6 separate regions of the Homo sapiens genome follow, and all the other regions are linked to region 2. Evidence: promoter capture Hi-C in 16 types of primary human blood cells and fetal thymus (Javierre and others, 2016). All regions are on one chromosome and are shown on one strand. The core of a region is centred on a gene start or on the middle of the fragment in contact, and the rest is flanking DNA. Distances in the headings are between cores, read along the strand shown.

Region 1 (3,209 bases), core at 155-2,654, 330 kb after region 2:
ATTACTTCTGAGGCCTCTTTTCTGTTCCGTTGGTCTATGTATCTGTTTTGGTACCAGTGCCATGCTGTTTCGGTTACTGTAGCCTTGTAGTATAGTTTGAAGTCAGGTAGCGTCATGCCTCCAGGTTTGTTCTTTTTGCTTAGGGTCATCTTGGCTATACGGGTTCTTTTTTGGTTCCATATGAAATTTAAAGTAGTTTTTTCTAATTCTGTGAAGAAAGTCAGTGGTAGCTTGATGGGGATAGCATTGAATCTATAAATTACTTTGGGTAGTATGGCCATTTTCATGATATTGATTCTTCCTATCCATGAGCATGGAATGTTTTTCCATCTGTTTGTGTTCTCTCTTATTTCCTTGAGCAGTGGTTTGTAGTTCTCCTTGAAGAAGTCCTTCATATCTTCTGTAAGTTGTATTCCTAGGTATTTTATTCTTCTTGTTGCAATTGTGAATGGGAGTTCACTCATGATTTGGCTCTCTGTTTGTCTATTATTGGTGTATAGGAATGCTTGTGATTTTTGCACATTGATTTTGTATCCTGAGACTTTGCTGAAGTTGCTTATCAGCTTGAGATTTTGGGCTGAGATGATGGGGTTTTCTAAATATACAATAATGTCATCTGCAAACAGAGACAATTTGATTTTTTAAAAAGAAATAAACCTGTGTCATGTGTCTATCTATATGTTTTATAATTAAATAAATTTAAAGTCTTAATGTTGTTGTCTGCAATTGTATCAACTGGAATTCTAATCCTTTGGATGGTAAAAATGCATGAGACATAGGTGTTGTTCTTTATATACATGATATTTGGATTTTATATAATAATAACTCCTTTAGTTGACAATTGTTCCCCAATTTTTTTTCTTGCTCTGTTTTACTATCCACTGAGTTTTAATAGTGTCCGTTATCATGAAATATTTCCTCTCTGCTGACATTCTTTTAAATCCCCTGTCTTTCTGTTCTGATTTTCATCTAAAGATGTATTTCAATGTATTTTTATAAATCTTGATGGATATATAAACCTATAGACCTGTGTGAATGTATACACTCCTGTGAACTAGCTGTACTCCTCTGAGACTATAAACACATTGCTGGTCTGTTATTTAGTCCAGATATATAAAGATTGAACAGCTTTTTATCCCAAAATCATGGTGGGGGAATGTGTAATAAGGTGTTGAAATGCTGATGTCCATTTAAAATGTTATAAATGTTTTAAACAAGCTATTTGAAGTATGCATACACAATTTTTGTTTGATGAGGAAAAGTGAGTTAGGTGTGGTTTAGGTAAAGCATATCCTCTCAGATTAATTTTTCCATCACTGTGACTGTGCCCACAACAGGGGTTCAGATAGTGCACTGAGCAAACCATGTTAGCAATTAATTTCCTATCCTTTTGTAACATGTTAGAAAATGTGTCAGAAAGGTTTCAGTGAACTTTGATCAAATTAGTTTATGCCTGTGATTTGACTAATACTTTTCTAGAATCCTTGTGAATTTAGTCTTGCTTTCATACTTAGCAACTAATTAATCAGAACATTTTTTTTGCCTTATCAAATTTCTTTGCTAGAGAAATCTAATTGATCTGTTACTGATTGTTGTTTGAGACAAAATCCAAAGGCCATCTCTTAGTGTAATTACTAATATATTAAGTGCATCAACACATACTTATATTGTAAAAATTGACAGTCTGAATTTTCTTATTTTTAATATCTTAGTATTCTTAATTTTCTTAATATCTGACTTACTACAACTAGAGTAATATAAAACAGCTGTAAAAATTGACTGTATTTTAAAAATTGATAGCCTAAATTTTCTTATCTTTAATATCTTAGTATTCCTAATATTCTTATCTTAATATCTGGCCTACTAAAACTAGAGTAATACAAAACAGCTGTATGTATTCATAAGTGATAGGAGGCCAAAGAAACAAAAATTTTTTCTCAGCATAAGCTCTGCCAGTTAATGCTGAATATGTAACTATTTTTCATTTCAAAAGTATGAGTAAAATTGATATTTTTTCATAATTGCATAAATTAACAATGCACTTATCTTTTATCTACCGTGTGGTTGGATTTTGAACGTGTCTTGCGATGTTGCTACTTCTTTAGCATTCTTTATATAGCACAAAGTGGGAAATGCTTCTTTTTATAAGCAAAAACATGAACAAAACATTTGTTAGAAAACGTGTTAAGTCAGTTATTTAGCCATGAGATCATCATATGCAACCATTATCTATTTATAATTCTCCTTTTGGAAAGTAAATAGAATTTTAACAAATGCTGTCATTTAATGTCAAGCAAAATTTCAAAAATTTTTTAAAAGCCTGATTTTTAAGTAATGGAGCTATACTAAAATGCTTTAGTGTTTATTGTATGTGGATTTTATGCAGTTGGGTCAGGTTATCAATATAATTGACTAGGGCTTAAGATGAAAAACTGAGATTATATTCTACTTTTTACTATATACTGTTTTATCATTCCCAACTAAGTTTGGGGCTACTTAAACCTTGAAAAATTTACTGATGTGGTATTTAGAATCTGTTATTTGGGTATCATAGGAAGAATGTAGTGAGTTGGTGGTAATTGATTTATCCTCCATCATACTGAACCTCCCACTCGTCTTCCACTTTGTCCTCCCTTGGGCAATAATCACAGGGTCGAACTGCCAATCTGTAGACTTAATTTTTTCCAGCAGTACCATCTGGCTCCTTGGCACCATAAGTTATATTGGTTCTTTGTGGCTGTTACTGAGTTTGTCATATTGTTAGACAGCTGATGGGATGTTTTTTGCTATTCGACCCTTTTAAAACTAATTATTGATTTTTATTTAGAGAATCTTCTTTGGCCATTTATGATAGCATGGCAGGATTTTATTGTGAAAAAAGTAGAATGCACCTAAACAAATCCTATATTATGTGTCAACCTTGAGATTCTATTCTCTGTATTGTATTCTGTCTAGTTCTTTAGTAGCTCTCCCTTTCAAGAGAGATTAAAATTAATTGTACAGGTTTTCTGTTTCATTCAAACCTGTATGTGTTTTTAAATTATTTGAATTTGCATTTAAAATCCTGTTATTACTGCAGTCATTTCCTAGTCACGAATGTTTAGAAGTCCCTATTAGTGGCACAGATAAACTTCTAATACCCAGTAATACTTTATCCCCTTAAAAAAAAAAAGACCATTTGTATATTATCTTGTGTTTTATTTTGTAGA
Region 2 (3,369 bases), core at 13-2,512:
TCCCAGCCTCCGATAGCGCCCGCGTCGCCGCCACAGCAGCGTTCAGGACCCAACGAGGGGCCCAGGGCCATGGGAGCCGCCAGAGTCCTGGCTTCCAGACGTGCCAGGGGCGCCTGCAACGCCGGGCCTCCAGCGGGGAGACTCCACTTGCCTCTCAGCTATATTTGTGATTTACTTGAGTCTTTCGGAGCCGTGGAAAATAACTACAGAGATACTAGGCACTGCCAAGGAATGCTTCCATTATCGCCCTCATTTTACTCCTGGAGGTCTAAGCAAGACCCCAGTAACCCGCCCCACGGATCCCCAGACCCCAGGCAGCCTCTGTGGCTGCAGGGAGCCTGGGCCCACTCGCTGGGTTCAAGGAGAACCCTCCGACTTGGGGCCCGGCTGGCTCGAGGAACCGGACCCTGTGATGAAGATTTTCCAGGCTGGATACGTAAGCAAATCAAATCGCAAACTAATGACACGAAAACCATATTCACACGAAAGAAAAATCGACTACGGTTATAAAAGTGTATGGAATTTGACCTCGCCTTGGAGAAACACTACACAAAAGCTATCTTTAATAGACGCCTGTCATTTAAGAGCGGCAGGGACACTGTCCCTCATGCGCTCGCAAAAACAGAGCCGTAATTGTAGCTGCTGCTGCTGCGGGCAGGATTTATTTCTCCAATTGGCTAAATGGCTTTCCCCCTTCCCCGAAGGTGATATCTGTATTTTCAAAATTCAGAGCTGCTGGCAGGACGGTCAGTACCGACCCCAACCTCGACACAAAAATAAGAGGGGCTGCAAAACGGGGGAAATAAAGTTGTTGTAAATAAAATGCAAGTCACCACCTCCCCCCAATCCTCTGCATCCTCGCCGGGCGCGCGATCGGCAGCTGACGGCCTAACAATTGGTACATCCTAATGGAACTGCGAGGGAAATGCAATAATTTTGCCATAATGGGCTGTAACCTCAATTCGACCCCGGCCCTTGCAGCCCCCGGTCGGAAGCTGGGCGATGAGCCCTGCCTCCAGCGGGTGGCGCTCGAGTCCGGCTGAACGGCGGCAACTGGCGGCGGGCACGCGCCCGGGGCGCGCGCGCCACCCCCCTCGCCTCCACCCAACTCCCCTATTAGTGCACGAGTTTACCTCTAGAGGTCATCAGGCAGGATTTACGACTGGACAACAAAAGCACGTGATTCGAAGTCGTACCCCATATTTGGGTGCCTACGTAGGAGGGAACCAAGTACATGTCCCAGTCATTTCCATAATTCATCATAAATTGTGCAAGGGTGCTATAGACGCACAAACGACCGCGAGCCACAAATCAAGCACACATATCAAAAAACAAATGAGCTCTTATTTTGTAAACTCATTTTGCGGTCGCTATCCAAATGGCCCGGACTACCAGTTGCATAATTATGGAGATCATAGTTCCGTGAGCGAGCAATTCAGGGACTCGGCGAGCATGCACTCCGGCAGGTACGGCTACGGCTACAATGGCATGGATCTCAGCGTCGGCCGCTCGGGCTCCGGCCACTTTGGCTCCGGAGAGCGCGCCCGCAGCTACGCTGCCAGCGCCAGCGCGGCGCCCGCCGAGCCCAGGTACAGCCAGCCGGCCACGTCCACGCACTCTCCTCAGCCCGATCCGCTGCCCTGCTCCGCCGTGGCCCCCTCGCCCGGCAGCGACAGCCACCACGGCGGGAAAAACTCCCTAAGCAACTCCAGCGGCGCCTCGGCCGACGCCGGCAGCACCCACATCAGCAGCAGAGAGGGGGTTGGCACGGCGTCCGGAGCCGAGGAGGACGCCCCTGCCAGCAGCGAGCAGGCGAGTGCGCAGAGCGAGCCGAGCCCGGCGCCGCCCGCCCAACCCCAGATCTACCCCTGGATGCGCAAGCTGCACATAAGTCATGGTAAAGCCAGCCTTTTTCTAAATCCACGCGACCGCGGGGACGCGGCTCTCGGTCCCCCCTCTCTTCTCTGCCGCCCTCTCCCAGTCTCTCTTGGTCTCATTTCTCCCAGCCCTGCGGAGCTCTCCTTGCCGTTCTCCCTCCCCTGCCTTCCTCCTTCCTCCTCTTCTTTGCGAGCACCCTGCGCTCACAAATAGTGGGGGAAATGGGCGTTCTCTGGGACAGTTTAGACGTTGGAAGGGGGAGGAAGCAAAAAACCCCTCTGGAACCCCACGCCTTGGGACGCGCTCCCGGGTCAGGCCAGCCGAGCAAGGCGCAGAGAGGTAGAGGATGGCTGTAGCAGCCGTGAATCGGGCTTGTCACGGCGGATAATTTATGAGGAGGGCTACGCTGGGGAAACAGCGTTACTAATTACAGCCCCCGAAAAGGGGCTTGGGGGAAAGAATCGAGGCGAGAGCCTGCAGGATTCTGAATTTTGGGGGCAGGAGGGAGAGAGAAGGAAAGGGAAGAAAAAGAAAACAGGCTCCCCAACCCTGCAGGCTGGAAACGGGAGGCGGCTCTCGGGGCTGGAACTTTGAGGGAGGGTGACCCGAAGGCCACTTGGGCGCTCAGGAAAGGGCCTTGCTTCCTGGGTTTCTGTGCGGTGGGCAGCCTGGGAGGGCTGTGCCTCCCGATCGGGGCGCCCGGGGCAGGGCGGAGGGGGCAGGAGAGGGGCCAGGGAAAGCCGGAGTCCGCCGGGACACGGCCCCAGCCTCAGATGGGCAGATTGTTCCCAGGGTCCAAATCGTATTGTTTTCTTTCTAGAAAGGAAGAGAGAAGGAAATTCGGGAGGGGTGTGCGGGCTGGTAGGCAGAACTTGTTGAGCTTTTCGCCTGGGTTCCCTGCTCATGACCCAAGCTTGTCCCCCTGGCGGACTTTGGAAGACAGGAGTTGGTGGCTAAACCGCTGACTTTTCTATTGCAGACAACATAGGCGGCCCGGAAGGCAAAAGGGCCCGGACGGCCTACACGCGCTACCAGACCCTGGAGCTGGAGAAGGAGTTCCACTTCAACCGTTACCTGACCCGCAGAAGGAGGATTGAAATAGCACATGCTCTTTGCCTCTCCGAGAGACAAATTAAAATCTGGTTCCAAAACCGGAGAATGAAGTGGAAAAAAGATAATAAGCTGAAAAGCATGAGCATGGCCGCGGCAGGAGGGGCCTTCCGTCCCTGAGTATCTGAGCGTTTAAAGTACTGAGCAGTATTAGCGGATCCCGCGTAGTGTCAGTACTAAGGTGACTTTCTGAAACTCCCTTGTGTTCCTTCTGTGAAGAAGCCCTGTTCTCGTTGCCCTAATTCATCTTTTAATCATGAGCCTGTTTATTGCCATTATAGCGCCTGTATAAGTAGATCTGCTTTCTGTTCATCTCTTTGTCCTGAATGGCTTTGTCTTGAAAAAAAATAGATGTTTTAACTTATTTATATGAAGCAAGCT
Region 3 (2,995 bases), core at 129-2,628, 360 kb after region 2:
TCATGAGATGAAAATAATATGAAATTCAAATTTCAGTGCCCATAAGTTAAGTTTTATTGGGACACAATCATGCTCATTCATTACGTATTATCTGTGACTGCTTTCAAGCTACTTCAAAAGAAGTAAGTAGTTGTAACAGAATCTGTCTGGCCACTAAAGCTGAAAAAATGTATTATCCATCCCCAGTCTAGATAGCCCCTATGCAACAATGGAAATTATTTAGGTCATTCAAAACCAAATGAATGCTTCTGAGAGACAGATGACAGAAGCATGAGTTGAACTAAGCAGAATAAAACAACTTTACCACAATAATAATTGCAACAGCTACCATTTATTGAGCATTTGCTAATGTGCCAGATACTCTTCAGGGCACTTTTCACACATTAACTCATTTAATCCATACAACTCTATGAGCCACTAACATATCTCATTTTACAGGAATCAGCACAGAGAGGTTAAGCAACTTCTCCAAAGTCAGTCAGGGATGAAACAGGCCAGTTTGGCTGTCTTTCACACTTACCTCAGTGATTTTCTCACATGTACATACCTTACAAGTACTTTCTATTGAATATATTATATTTCTTGAGTCAGAGATAACAGTGTTTTCCTTTGGTTGACCCTAATTGCTTGTTCTCACTTCAGGCACTCCTGGTTTGTAATGTTTGTACATAAGAGCTTAGTCAGTGCAGGTCATCTAATTTCAAATAGAAATTATTTAAACCTGTTTTTAATGATGACTTTAGCAGATTGGATTATTGTATAACAGGCTCTCCTGTCTTAAAACACAAATTACTTGTTTTTTAAAAGCAGACTCTAGGCATATTTTCTGTTGTTTATATCTAATTTATGACCAATTCAATAATTTTTCCCTCTACATTTTTTTAACATGTTATGTTACCTCCCTGACCAAAATCCTCCAGTAATTTCTCATTGCCTTGAAATCAAGTCGTGCATGAACATTTTCCCTCAGAATCCCAATAAGAAGCTAATCTTAATTTAAACAGTATATTTTATAGAATGATATGAATTGAAATGCTTTGTCATGTGGTTGTCAATTTTGAGATTAGGGAAAGATTAAAATGTATTCCATTTCTGTCTTAGATATTAATTGGGATATTTGATGTCAACGAACAAAGTTGCATTTTATCTTTATTAAATTTCATTGAGTATTGTTAGGCTTCAGATTTTTCCCATCTGTAACATAGAGACCTACTTATAAAATGAATGGAATTATTTCCATTAGTTCAGAATTTGTGGTAATAAGGGCAGGTAATTGTATTCTGTCTGTAAGTAAAAGTAGAATTCACTGTGTAAAAATGATTGTAGAGGAAATATCTTATTACAATCATTCTTTTATTTTATAAACAGCTATTTAATGGTAGCAATTACAAGTAATCCTTAATAAGTTTTTAAAAGCAGGATGCCCCCATCAGACATTTTTATGGAATTATTGATAACATATTTGAATTCACATTTCTATTCACAAATTAAGAACAGTTATTACTGTTTTATGAAAAATATCTTTAAAAATTAAATCTTGTCACTCATTCAAACTTACTGCCTCCTAGTTCATTTCAACTAGTGGGCTTAACTTACTGAGTCCTTTGAAATTCTAGACTTAAGTTTAGAATGTCTTGGCTATTAAAGCAGACATTACATAGTCTGAAAAATAGTCTTTATAGCTGCTTTTGATGTTGACAGTGAAGATCATTGTAATTCATTTATTTACTTCAAAAGTTATATCAAATATTGGAGAGGAAATAAATTTATTTTGCTTTAAATTTATTTTATATATTATATACATGTATACAATATGTATGTAATTTGTATTACATGTTTACATTACTTGATCCCAAAATGTATTTCTTTTAGACACAGAAGAAACATATATGTTTGATGTAAGGTGTTACCTGCTTTCCCAGATAAGTAACTTATCTGAGGTCATGCAGTTTTTAGTGGCTGAATTTGAACTGGGAAACCTGGACCTGACTCCTGAACTAATGACTTTGACCAATGTGCTGTACTCTTCACAGACATAAACAGATTAATATAGTGAAGAATAATGGATGCAGTGATAGAAATATGTCCATCAGTTCAAAGTTCTTTGCTGTTCTTTATGTCCTTTATATGAATTTAAAAATATGAGAATGTGTGCAGCACTGATTGTTAGCGGAATCATAGTATGGAACTAGAAGGGCCTAGAACACTGTCAAATTTTGCTCTAAGTACTTTATATAAATTATTTCATTTAGTCATCAAATTGAGATTGGTGCTTTTATTGTTCCCTTCTGCAGCTGAGGAAACTGAGATTAAATGTCGTATTTCCCCAAGGGAGCCTAGGCTAAACCCAGCCGTGTTCTTTTAAGTACTGTGAATTTTGCCTCCCTGAAATGCTTTTCCCCCATCCCTTAAAAATAAGTGCTTTCGTATATACCAATAATGATTTTCCTAGAACAAACAACTTTTAGACTTGTCATTACAATTCTTATAGCCTGGCAGTGTTCTGACTTAGGTCTCAGTGGTTAGGAATCAATTTAGGGTCATCAAAAGGGTTCTGTGCTACCTTTTGCTATAGAACTAACAAAATATAATTAATAGGATTGGCATTTCAAAATTTATAGCTTATAAAATTATATATTCTCAGGATTTAAATACCTATAATCAGTTCATTTATAGGTGTTGAGTTGTTAAAAAAAAATGAGTATGTAGTATGTTACCAGGATTTTACCAGGTATGTAGTATTTACCAGAACTTGGTCTGTTTTCCTGTTTTTACCTTGAAATACCATTCATGCCTGTCTTTGACATGTTTCTTATTACTCCTCCCTAGAAGTATCTTGTTTGTCTTGACAGAACACTCTGGACTTTTGTGATATATTGTTACCATCATTATTTGGTATTCTTCTGTTTATGTATGTAAAACAAGGAGCAGCTGCTTTCTGCCAGCATTTTGGGTACTCATTTATATTCCCACATTGGTGACCTTAATTTGAAAC
Region 4 (3,215 bases), core at 684-3,183, 470 kb after region 2:
TGATGAAAAGAGTTCCCGGGAAGAACAGAGAGGCACCATTGATAATGCAGTAATCCAGGGCAAGGTGATGAAGGCCTGAATTAGTGGTGCCAGTGAGAATAAAGTGGAATGGGTGAACCTGAGAACAGTTAATAGAGTCATGTAGGTAAAATACCATACACTGAATACCAAAGTCACTCTCTACTGAGCATGACATGATCTTCTTTGCCTAACATTATCTGCGAATCACCAGTCTGAATGTCAGGTTTTACTCTATGGTATTGTAACTGTCAACTTTGTAGAAATTGGAATTAACTATAGCATGACTCAGGGATATAAACTAAAATTTCTTATGAGAATTCTTACTGTCAGCTTCCTTGTTTTTGTCTCTCTTGCTTTAAAAATGGAGTATACAATGCAAGGAGGAAAAACAGTAATTCTTTGAATTAGAGGAACTCAAAGTCACACCTGCAAAGTAAATTGCAAAGTAATGAGATTGATCTCCGTACACCACTAGAGAACTTAGTGTCTTCAATCAGGTTCCTGAATGGTGGTGCTCAAACATCATGGAGGTCCTTAGAGATTGTGTCAGTTTCCTCATTTAACAGGTTAGGAATCTAAGATTCAAGTAGTTAATGTATAGATAGTAATAGTAAAACGCCGAGGTTGTACAGTTCCTGTTGTGCATTTATAAAGATAACCTTTTGAAACAATGAATGTATGAGAAATGAGAGGATTCTTACAAAGTTTCTAATCGGAGTTAATAAAAAAGAGACTAAAGAGGTAGCCTTGATGAAAGTATTTATACACTTTAAATAGGTATCTAGTTTTCATAGTATTACAGTGTTTATGAATAAAGATATCACAATGAAGAATACTTGGAAAACAACAGTCAAGTCCATTGGTTCTTAAACTTGCTGTATTTTATGTTTTGTGAATAAAATTACTTTCATTTTCACAAAAGGCTGGTGTGTTTTGAAGCACAGATATATGTTTGGAAAAGGACACAAATTTTTTTTAACATTGCAAACACCTGTTGCTTTCAAACACATCGGTAACTAATTTCTGAAAGGGTTAGTACATTATTAAATCTTTTAATGTTTCAGGTTTCTGTTAAGTCAGCATTCTTTTACCATATCATTCGCAGAAAGCGGATTAACATACTCGATAAATGACAGTCATGGTGCTGAAAAAGATTTAAGTAAATGTTGGGGCCTTATTTAAGTGTAAAATAATATTCCAGCAGAGAAAGAAGATTTAGTTAATGAGTAAATATTACTATTATGTTGGATAAAGTCTCTGTTTCACTTTATCATAACTAGTCCTTTTTCCTGCCTTCTTACCCAGTCACTCTTACTGCTCAATAAATATTAATTGGGGACTAAAATTTCAACTACAAAATAAAACAAATAAAATGACTATAATGGTATGAAAATTGAAAACATGGGAGTTAGATCACAAGCATTCACTACCGCCTTACTATTATTTTCTCGGATTACTGGGCAAGTTTGGCTTTTTTTTGCTTCTTTGATTGCCACACTACATTTTGCCTTGAAGCCATCCATTTTGCAGATATTGAATTTCTTTTGAGTACTATTTTTATACAATAAGCATCACTACACCTCTGGATCTTGATAGCATTACTGCAGGAGGAGAAAGCAGCTTTGTGTTAGTAATTACCTAACATTGTCAGAAGCTGACTGCAGGCCTCTTTCTAGTGATAACAGAATAACCGCATAATGTAGCTTTATAGCACATGATTAATAGAAAATAATTACACGTCCTACAAAGGGATGCAATATTTCTTATAAATTGACTAGAATGGTTTCCTGTAGATTAAAGGACTCTTCATTATTTTATCAGTCCTCCTGAAGTACAGTCACTTGCCTATGTTAGCATTTCAGCTGATGTTAAGAGCTGAATAGGTGAAGGATACCAGATGGCAGACCTCCTTGTACCTGAAACCTTGTGTTCCATAAAGATTACATGATGCTTCCTAACATTTCAAAGATTTAGACAACAGCCTGGTATGGATTGTCTATTTTTTGTTTGCTAAGAAGATAAAGTTTGAGAGTTTTCCTTTTTGTTTTTTAAATGATCCACTTGTGACTTTATAGAACAATACTATAATTAGTTTGTGGACTGCAAAACAACATTGTATCAGTTGCATTATTTTCCACTGTAAGTAATATATCATTCATAATCACATTTGTTTGGGGGTGGAAAAGAGGAAAGGCATAGACAGGCAGATTTTCTTTTTCAGAAGGAAACCTTGTACAATATTGAATGTTCAGGCCAAAGTTTAGAATACTGTACTCCAAGAAGCATTTTCATTCCAATTTATAGGCTGCAAATGGTTTAATTGGGATTCATGTTGCTCAGGAGGCTCATACAGAGAATAGTAATGATAAAAGTAAAAAGCTCCTGTATTTGCAGTCTTGTCAACACTCTAATGGCTGCAGTGTAAATCCATAAATTTGCCTCCTGTATTTTTACCTCACTATATTTGATCATAATGCATTAATTTCAAACAGGAATATAATTTGCAATTCTTTACAAATATAAGGTAATATTCTGGTTTTTAGTTTTACCTTTTCTGATTTAAATCTGATATTTTAGAGTATTTTTATCAAGTGTATGTTTCCTATGTTTTTCAATTATTTTAAATTAAGTGAAGCATTTAAGATTATTTTAGTCTAAACCTTTTTTCTCCCTAGAGTATAACTTTTAAGGGATTTGTTTATAGTTGATTAAGCTCCTCCCTGCTGTTTACCACTATGCTTTCTAGTTAATAAATCTTCCTGTTCTACCATAGCACAGAATTCTCTCAACTGTGAAGTCTGCCCTTGTTGATGTGATTTCTTGGGAACTAATTTCTTAAATTTGGGTGTGAGTAACTTTTTGAAAATGATAACATGCCTTTAGTTGATAGCATAGACTATGACCAAAGTAGAATATTATAAAGTAATAACTTTCTGTCTTGTAATTTGAATCTAAGCATTGACCCCCAGATTGAGGGCCATTCTCTGGAAGCAAGTTTATGCCAATAATATGTCTTCTCACTGAATGTTTTCTATGTCTGTCACTGGGGAGCAGGGGGCTAGTTCCTTTTCTCATTCCAAATAATCAGTTTCAAAAATCTTATATTGGCATTGAATAAGAGCTTTAACACTCAGACCTACCCTGTTAATTATCCACTTTGAAATCTTACAGTAGTCTGTGGAACGTTAAGTACG
Region 5 (3,230 bases), core at 705-3,204, 450 kb after region 2:
ATTTTACTGCATAGCTGAGCTGTTTTTGTTTACTGTTATTAAAATGTTGAATGGAATATATTAACTCACAAACATTGACTACTTGAGGTATTAATTAGTATTGTACAATGACATTGTGCCTCAACACCAAAATAATACATATTTAATAATAAACCTAAATAAAAAAATATGTGAATGTATATATTTCTAATATATTGTGAAGGTGATTATTGCCTAGAATTTTGGTCACTTGTTCTTACATATTTTTAAGAGCTTTATTCTATTAATAAATGAATATGTTAAGATTTATTTGTATGATTTTTTTAATCCATTTGTTTATTCTGTATTTATCGAACATCTCCTTTGTGCCAAGTTCTATTCAAGGTTCAGTCTGAGGTTTTTTTCCCTGCCTAAGATTCAAAAACATACACCATATTTGATTTTGTTATCTTTTATATGGAAGCTATTTGTATTGTTAGCCAAGATAAAATGAGTTGTTTAAATATTGTTAAGAAAAATTGATATATTAAATGCATAAAGCTTTGGTTTAAAAATATCGCTACCAGGTTTAAAATGGAAAAAGGAAGTGTCCTTAATGAGCATCTCATCCTCTAAAATCTGCTTATTAAATGGCATCTTACATGGATTTCAATTTGGATATTTTATAGTAAACATTAATTCTTAAGTAAATACTTTTAATATCATTATTCTGATAATTTAAGAGTGCATATTTCTAAGAACAAAGCTCTCTGACACCAATATACAATCCAGAGCACATGTTACTGGCACTTAAGTTTTAATAAAATAAAAAATTCATAGTAACAAATACTTCTAAATTCATTGTTAACTTTGTCAAAGAGCAGAGTTTTTTCATTAAGTCTTGTAATGAATTTTTATATGTTCATGCTGATTTGGGTGGTGAAATCTAAATCCCACAGTCTCTTTTTTTTTTTTTTTTTTTTTGAGATGGAGCTTCACTCTTGTCGCCCAGACTGGAGTGCAGTGGCGCGATCTCAGCTCATTGCAACCTCCGCCTCCCAGGTTCAAGCGATTCTCCTTCCTCAGTCTCCTGAGTAGCTGAGATTACAAGCGCCTGCCACCATGCCATGCTAATTTTTGTATTTTTAGTAGAGACGTGGTTTTGCCATGTTGGCCAGGCTTGTCTCGAACTCCTGATCTCAGGTGATCCACCCGCCTGGGCCTCTCAAAGTGCTGGGATTACAGGCGTGACCGACCATGCCCAGCCCCCACAGTCTCTTCTTAAAAGCCACTAATAATACTTATTGTATTGATGCGGTTATAGCTTTTGACTGAGGACGAGTGCCTTTATCCATTTTTTAATTTATTTCTTACTATTGAATTTGTGACTAAATTAAAAGGGGAGTGGGTGCTATGGAAAGAAAGTGTGAAAAGTAAGGAAAGCTTTCTCCTTCACCTTTTACCAAATTATCTGTCAATAAAATGAGTAGGTTGGAATAATGACTGTAAACGTTCCTTCTACCTTTAAAAATTTATATGGAAACACCCTATTAACCCATTTATTAAAGCTAGCCTTTAAGGTTTGGCATAAGTGAGATAACTATTGTTAAAAAGAAAAGAGACAGGATACTTTTTAAAAGAGTGGTATACTTTTATTAGGTCTTCTATATATTTGACTGAACCATATTAAATTGTCAGTGTTATGTTTAACAATATGAATAAAATGCCAGATATTTTCAGGTGTCCCTTATATTGGAGTTGTCATTATTTTGTTTGAATTGAGTTACAGAAATTCAGAACAGTTCTATTTGTCGTGTAAGTACAGCTACCCTCTCAAGCTTGGTTGAAATGCTGATTTTGATTCATCCCCATTTAACATTTTCAGGAGACTCCTAAATTTCCACCTGTAGTCCTGACTGCTCTACCATACTTTGCAGTTGCCCAGACATGTTCTCTGGGTTGCCTCACCAATACATTAAATTCCTCCTGTTGAAAACACAACTCTTTGTGTTCCCCAGTAAGATAGATTATTTTGGCTATCCTCCTTTTAGTAATAATATGTCCATTTCTCAGTTAACTAAGCTCAAAACCTTAGCCATCCTTTGTTGCTCTTTTCCCCCCCCTCATTCCTCCACATTCAGGCACAAAGCTTATCCATTCTAGTTCCTTTACCTCTTATAACCATCTCCTTTCCATTTCCTTTGCCCCTTCAGTTCAGGACTTCCTTCCCCTTTATCCACAGTAGTCTCTCTCCCGCCCCTTTTTTAGGCTGTCTGAGACAATGGGATCAGATGTCCATTCCTGAAGCATAGCTTCAGTCCTGCCCTTTCTCTGCTCAAAAAACCTTCGAAGGCTCTTATTGCCCACCAAATAAAAGCCTGCAGTCCATAACAAGATGTTCATGGCCCCTCAACAGCTGGTCCAAACTATGAGCGTAACTCCTACCCAGCTCTTCCCCTATGTGTACCAGATTCTTTAGTCAAAATGAATATGAACATGCCTTTTTCTTTTAAAGATCATACCTATCCCTCCGGAAATATCCTTCTTATCCTCTCTCCTTATTTAAACTCTCTCCATCCCTTGGAGCCTCCGTGGTACTCCCTAGTTGGGGGGTTTCTCTGCTGCACTTCTTCAGTGCTTTGTGCATCACTTGTCAGGTTTAGGCCCCTTCAGCCTGTTTTCCTTTAGAGCTTGTCTTCTGTCCCATCTGTGCTGTCAGCTTCCTGTGAGCAGAGGCTTCCTGTTACTTTTACCTCCTTGGTAGATCTCTTCTGTCTCACAGTTAGTTAATATCCAATGAAGATTGATTGACTGATTGATTGAATAGTTACAATGACTACATTTATATATTTTGCATATTTTTCTTTAAAGTTTTAGGAGTTTTCTTGAAATTATGATTCTCTTTGAATCCAGTTTTTCTTTGGCATGCCATTTGTTTATATGTCCTGCCTTAAGTATTTCTAGGTTTGTATGCAAATCCTTAGGTGAGGAAAAATCATGTAATAAATATTTTTCTTGGTGTAAATGAATTAGTTTATTAAGTCTATTTAAAGCTCTTCTCATTTAATTTTATCTTATTTCTTTGCATAATTTGGGGAAGGAATGGTATAGGTGAGTGTGGAACAAATGTAAATGGAGCACTGATTATATGTAGGATAAAGAACATTGACTTTATAATCACAAACTTAAGTTCGAATGACACACTTTGGAAGTTACTTCACCTTTTTGAGTCTCTAAAGATAAACTTGTCTGTAGAATGAGGATTAAAAATT
Region 6 (3,440 bases), core at 759-3,258, 410 kb after region 2:
CTCCCCATTTTTAAGGAGGGGATTGTCAGTTCTTAGTACCTCCTCTCAGGGCTTTTGCTGAAACCTGATTAAAGAATACACTAGCACCGTCTAGTAAATGGGAGCTACAAGTAGCCCTGATCTACAAAGTCATTCAAAGGTTATTTCTTACATCATATGGTTTTAATTTTTTCATTGTAATATCTTTTCAATATATAATAAAAGTCCGTAGAAAATTGGGCTTAATATGGAGAATTTAAGATAACAAAATTTCAGAACTTGGCAGAGAAATAAAATTTTTCATTGAAATTTACCTCCCTGCTCTCCCCTTCTCCACAACTTCACCGTTGATAGGAAAAAAAGAGGACATATATGTTCTCTTTGAAGTTTGAAAATTATAAAATATATTTTGATGTTGAAAAAGCATCATATTTCTCTTTTAATATTGTTTTGAATATGTTAAAGTGACAGTACTTATATTTGTATAATTAAAAGTTCTGTTGTTTTGTAACAACAACTTAATAGAAAGCCATAAAAGCTTACCTTTTTTCTTCTGATTCATTTGACAGAAACAAATTCTGTCATTTTATAATTGTAATTATATAATTTTATAATTATATCAAGATGATATATATTAAATGTGTAAGTGAATTCTGATATTTAAAAAATTTAAATTGCAATTCTGTTTCCATCTGGTATGTGAAGGATATCTTTATTCCTTAAGAAATAGGAACCATTAATTCTACTTTTATCAGAAATTATTACAATTTTATAGACTTTTGGGTCTTTGATATGAAAGTATTAACTTTAAAACTTATCACAATAAACTTTTTTTTTTTTTTGAGACGGGGTCTCGCTCTGTTGCCCAGGCCAGAGTGCAGTGGCATGATCTCAGCACACTGCAACCTCCGCCTCCCGGGTTCAAGCGATTCTTCTGCCTCAGCCTCCTGAGTAGCTGGGATTACAAACATTAAATTAAAGCTATGCCTTTATTTTCTGCCTTTATGGCTAAGAGACTCTCTAACAGTATATAGAAGTTAAAATGTACATCTGATGTTTAGTAGGATTTCATCAACATGCAGAAATAGTCAGGTACAAACCAAGTTTTACTAAGGGTCTGATGACCACGAATGTTGTTGGTTTGATATCTAGTCTCACTTCTACACAAAACCCCAGAGATATATTTCAAGTGGCTGATTTAGCATTGGCATCTGCAAGCTGTATAAACCAAAGGAGAATGTTCATATATCTTTAACTGAGGAGCTGGAACATCTTGCTAGTCAGTTTGATAAAATTTAGTGGCAAGGTCTAGTATTGATGGGCATATTTTTCTTTTCCCTACTAATGAGTACTAATACTTGTGGAAATAACGTAAGTTATTCACTGAAGGGAAAAGGCCTTCTTAAATATAAGTAGTAGATATTGCTGAACACATTTCATATTTTTGTTTGCTAGCCATTTGTGCCAAGTTAGTGTTCTTGGTATAAGCATCGGAAACCAACTTTGTTTATGCAGAAAGGGAAATTATTAGGAAAATATCAGCTCTCAGAATTGCTAAGAATGCTACACACAGGCTCAGCAAGCAAGCAAGAACTAAGGTAGGTAAGGGGGCTGGATCTTGAGCATAATCCATGAAAAATCTTATTGGGACACACTGCTGGCTTGGGCCTTGCCAAGCCAGGACATGTGATGTTGCCACTGTGCACTGCCATCAATCAGTGAGTGCCATTGCCACCAGAATGGATTCTGAACCCTCTCTTGATCCTTTTGTTACTTACTGGAGATTTAGGTTCCAGTCTGGAGCATCCACTTTGATTAAGTTGGAACAGGGAAAATCCATCTCTCTCCAGCTTCTGTGATGGAAAACTAAGCCCTATCCCTGACAATCTTGGAATTAAAATAGGAAAGATGCATGGATGCTGGGGAGCCCCAAATAATAAATGTCCATAACTTGTAGGGATGCTAAAGGATTTGGAATTATTTGGTTGCAATATTTATGCTGTATTTAAAATGGTATGAGAGTGGTTGGTGTTTTAAGCATATTTTTCTGAGAGCCAATGAAGAAGAGAAAAAACAAGTATATTTGCCAGAAAAATAGAAGGTCTGTTTAGATTTTGGTAGGTGGCATTGGAGTGTAGGGGGTAACGTCGGGGCAGTTGGTGAAGGTAAGGGCAAAATAAAAAATGGTGCCCAGTTTTCTGGTTTGGGAGCTTGAATTAATGGAGGTGCCATTTATTGAGATGGGGGATACAACAAGAAATATCACAGTTGTTGGCATCACAAGTGTTGGGAGTGGGGATAAGATGATCTCCATTGTGGGCACTTTCTATTCAATGAGCCTATAGGACATTTGAGAAATGAAACATATTTAGTGAGCAGATGAAGATTTGGATAAACAGTTTTGAAAATGAACTAAAAGTAGAGAATCATGAGTCACAAGTATATTGATAGGAATTTAATTCTTGGAATTAGATGAGATTGCCCAGGGAGAGTGTAATGTAAGAAGAGAGCAAGACTTAGAACAACGCATCATAGCTTTTTAAGAGATAGGCAGAGGTAGAGGAACCCATAAAGAAAGCTGAGAAAGTTTGACCTAAGTTGTAGGACGAAATGCAAAATAACATTTATCTTCTCTACCGTGATTTTGTATATTTCACATTGTATTGAGGACAGTGGTTGTAGTGTGTATCAAAATCACCTGGGGTGCTTGCTAAAAATTTGGTTTCCTAGACTCACCCACAGAGATTCCTATATAGCAAGTGCAGAGTGGTAGCCAATTCTGTGTTAACAGGCGTCCAAGTTGATTCTAACATAGGTGATTCTTAAAATATACTTTGAGAAACACCTTTTTAGAAAACAGTGTGAAATGGCTGAAAAAGCAAGGCTTTAGAACCAGACTTTCCTAGGGTCCTGGCTTTTACTGTTTACTATTTGTGTGACCGTGAGCAAATTGGTTAAAGTTTGTTTTCCCATCAGTGCTGGGAATATAATATGTCTCCTCTATTGCTTAGAATTATTACCAGGTGTATATGAGATATGTTCTATTAAGTTCTTGACATGTAGAAGCTCAGTAAATGTGAGTTGTCTTTTTGACAGCTTAAAAAACCCCCAGAACACAGCTGTAAACCTAAAAGCCAGTGAAAAAGTAGAAGGAAATTGCTCTTATTAGCCTTATGCATTTTGTTTTGTAGGAAATCAGAGCCAACTGCTTTTTACCTTGAACCTGCTGAATTAGGATTGTGTAAAATTAAGTTACTGATATAATAGATTTCATTATCTAGTTTTTCCTGGCAGCCTTCAGTTCTGTAGACATTACATTCAAACAGCATGATAGAGGTTAGGTTAAAGTGTGAAACAGAAGCTGAGAGAAATGTAATAGAGGAACAAACACCTCAAAAATTCTGAAGGCATCAATGTGTTATAAAAACTAATACTCAAAATGATACTATGTTAAGAAAAAA

The links. The method cuts DNA at HindIII sites, captures the fragments that hold promoters and counts their contacts. A CHiCAGO score of 5 or more calls a contact.
Region 1: a fragment that was not itself captured here is called in contact with the fragment with the promoter of HOXA5 in region 2 in 1 of 17 cell types (neutrophils); the score reaches 7.6 in neutrophils.
Region 3: a contact is called between a fragment that was not itself captured here and the fragment with the promoter of HOXA5 in region 2, in 1 of 17 cell types (neutrophils). The highest score is 5.8, in neutrophils.
Region 4: a contact is called between a fragment that was not itself captured here and the fragment with the promoter of HOXA5 in region 2, in 7 of 17 cell types (megakaryocytes, endothelial precursors, erythroblasts and 4 more). The highest score is 9.5, in megakaryocytes.
Region 5: a fragment that was not itself captured here is called in contact with the fragment with the promoter of HOXA5 in region 2 in 10 of 17 cell types (endothelial precursors, total CD8 T cells, megakaryocytes and 7 more); the score reaches 12.9 in endothelial precursors.
Region 6: a fragment that was not itself captured here is called in contact with the fragment with the promoter of HOXA5 in region 2 in 1 of 17 cell types (neutrophils); the score reaches 6.0 in neutrophils.

What each region holds. Positions count from the first base shown.
Region 1 is chr7:26,815,071-26,818,279 of GRCh38, reverse strand. All of the region lies in intron 4 of SKAP2 (src kinase associated phosphoprotein 2), which reads left to right. The region is part of intron 1 of LOC124901606 (a long non-coding RNA gene); the gene reads right to left. Among named protein-coding and RNA genes, the nearest start is that of SKAP2, 48 kb to the left of the region's middle. The HindIII fragment of the contact is 6,899 bases long and covers 1-3,209 here.
Region 2 is chr7:27,141,574-27,144,942 of GRCh38, reverse strand. It overlaps HOXA5 (homeobox A5), which reads left to right and starts at 1,262. Exons shown (of 2, transcript NM_019102.4): 1 at 1,262-1,897; 2 at 2,858-3,369. The coding sequence starts at 1,336. The coding sequence ends at 3,108. All of the region lies in intron 1 of HOXA3 (homeobox A3), which reads left to right. All of the region lies in intron 1 of HOXA-AS3 (HOXA cluster antisense RNA 3), which reads right to left. The HindIII fragment of the contact is 13,335 bases long and covers 1-2,793 here.
Region 3 is chr7:26,777,601-26,780,595 of GRCh38, reverse strand. The region is part of intron 4 of SKAP2 (src kinase associated phosphoprotein 2); the gene reads left to right. Among named protein-coding and RNA genes, the nearest start is that of SKAP2, 85 kb to the left of the region's middle. The HindIII fragment of the contact is 3,889 bases long and covers 1-2,995 here.
Region 4 is chr7:26,671,941-26,675,155 of GRCh38, reverse strand. All of the region lies in intron 11 of SKAP2 (src kinase associated phosphoprotein 2), which reads left to right. Among named protein-coding and RNA genes, the nearest start is that of LINC02860, 36 kb to the right of the region's middle. The HindIII fragment of the contact is 5,282 bases long and covers 1-3,215 here.
Region 5 is chr7:26,691,045-26,694,274 of GRCh38, reverse strand. The region is part of intron 9 of SKAP2 (src kinase associated phosphoprotein 2); the gene reads left to right. Among named protein-coding and RNA genes, the nearest start is that of LINC02860, 55 kb to the right of the region's middle. The HindIII fragment of the contact is 311 bases long and covers 1,799-2,109 here.
Region 6 is chr7:26,730,512-26,733,951 of GRCh38, reverse strand. All of the region lies in intron 6 of SKAP2 (src kinase associated phosphoprotein 2), which reads left to right. Among named protein-coding and RNA genes, the nearest start is that of LINC02860, 94 kb to the right of the region's middle. The HindIII fragment of the contact is 2,978 bases long and covers 520-3,440 here.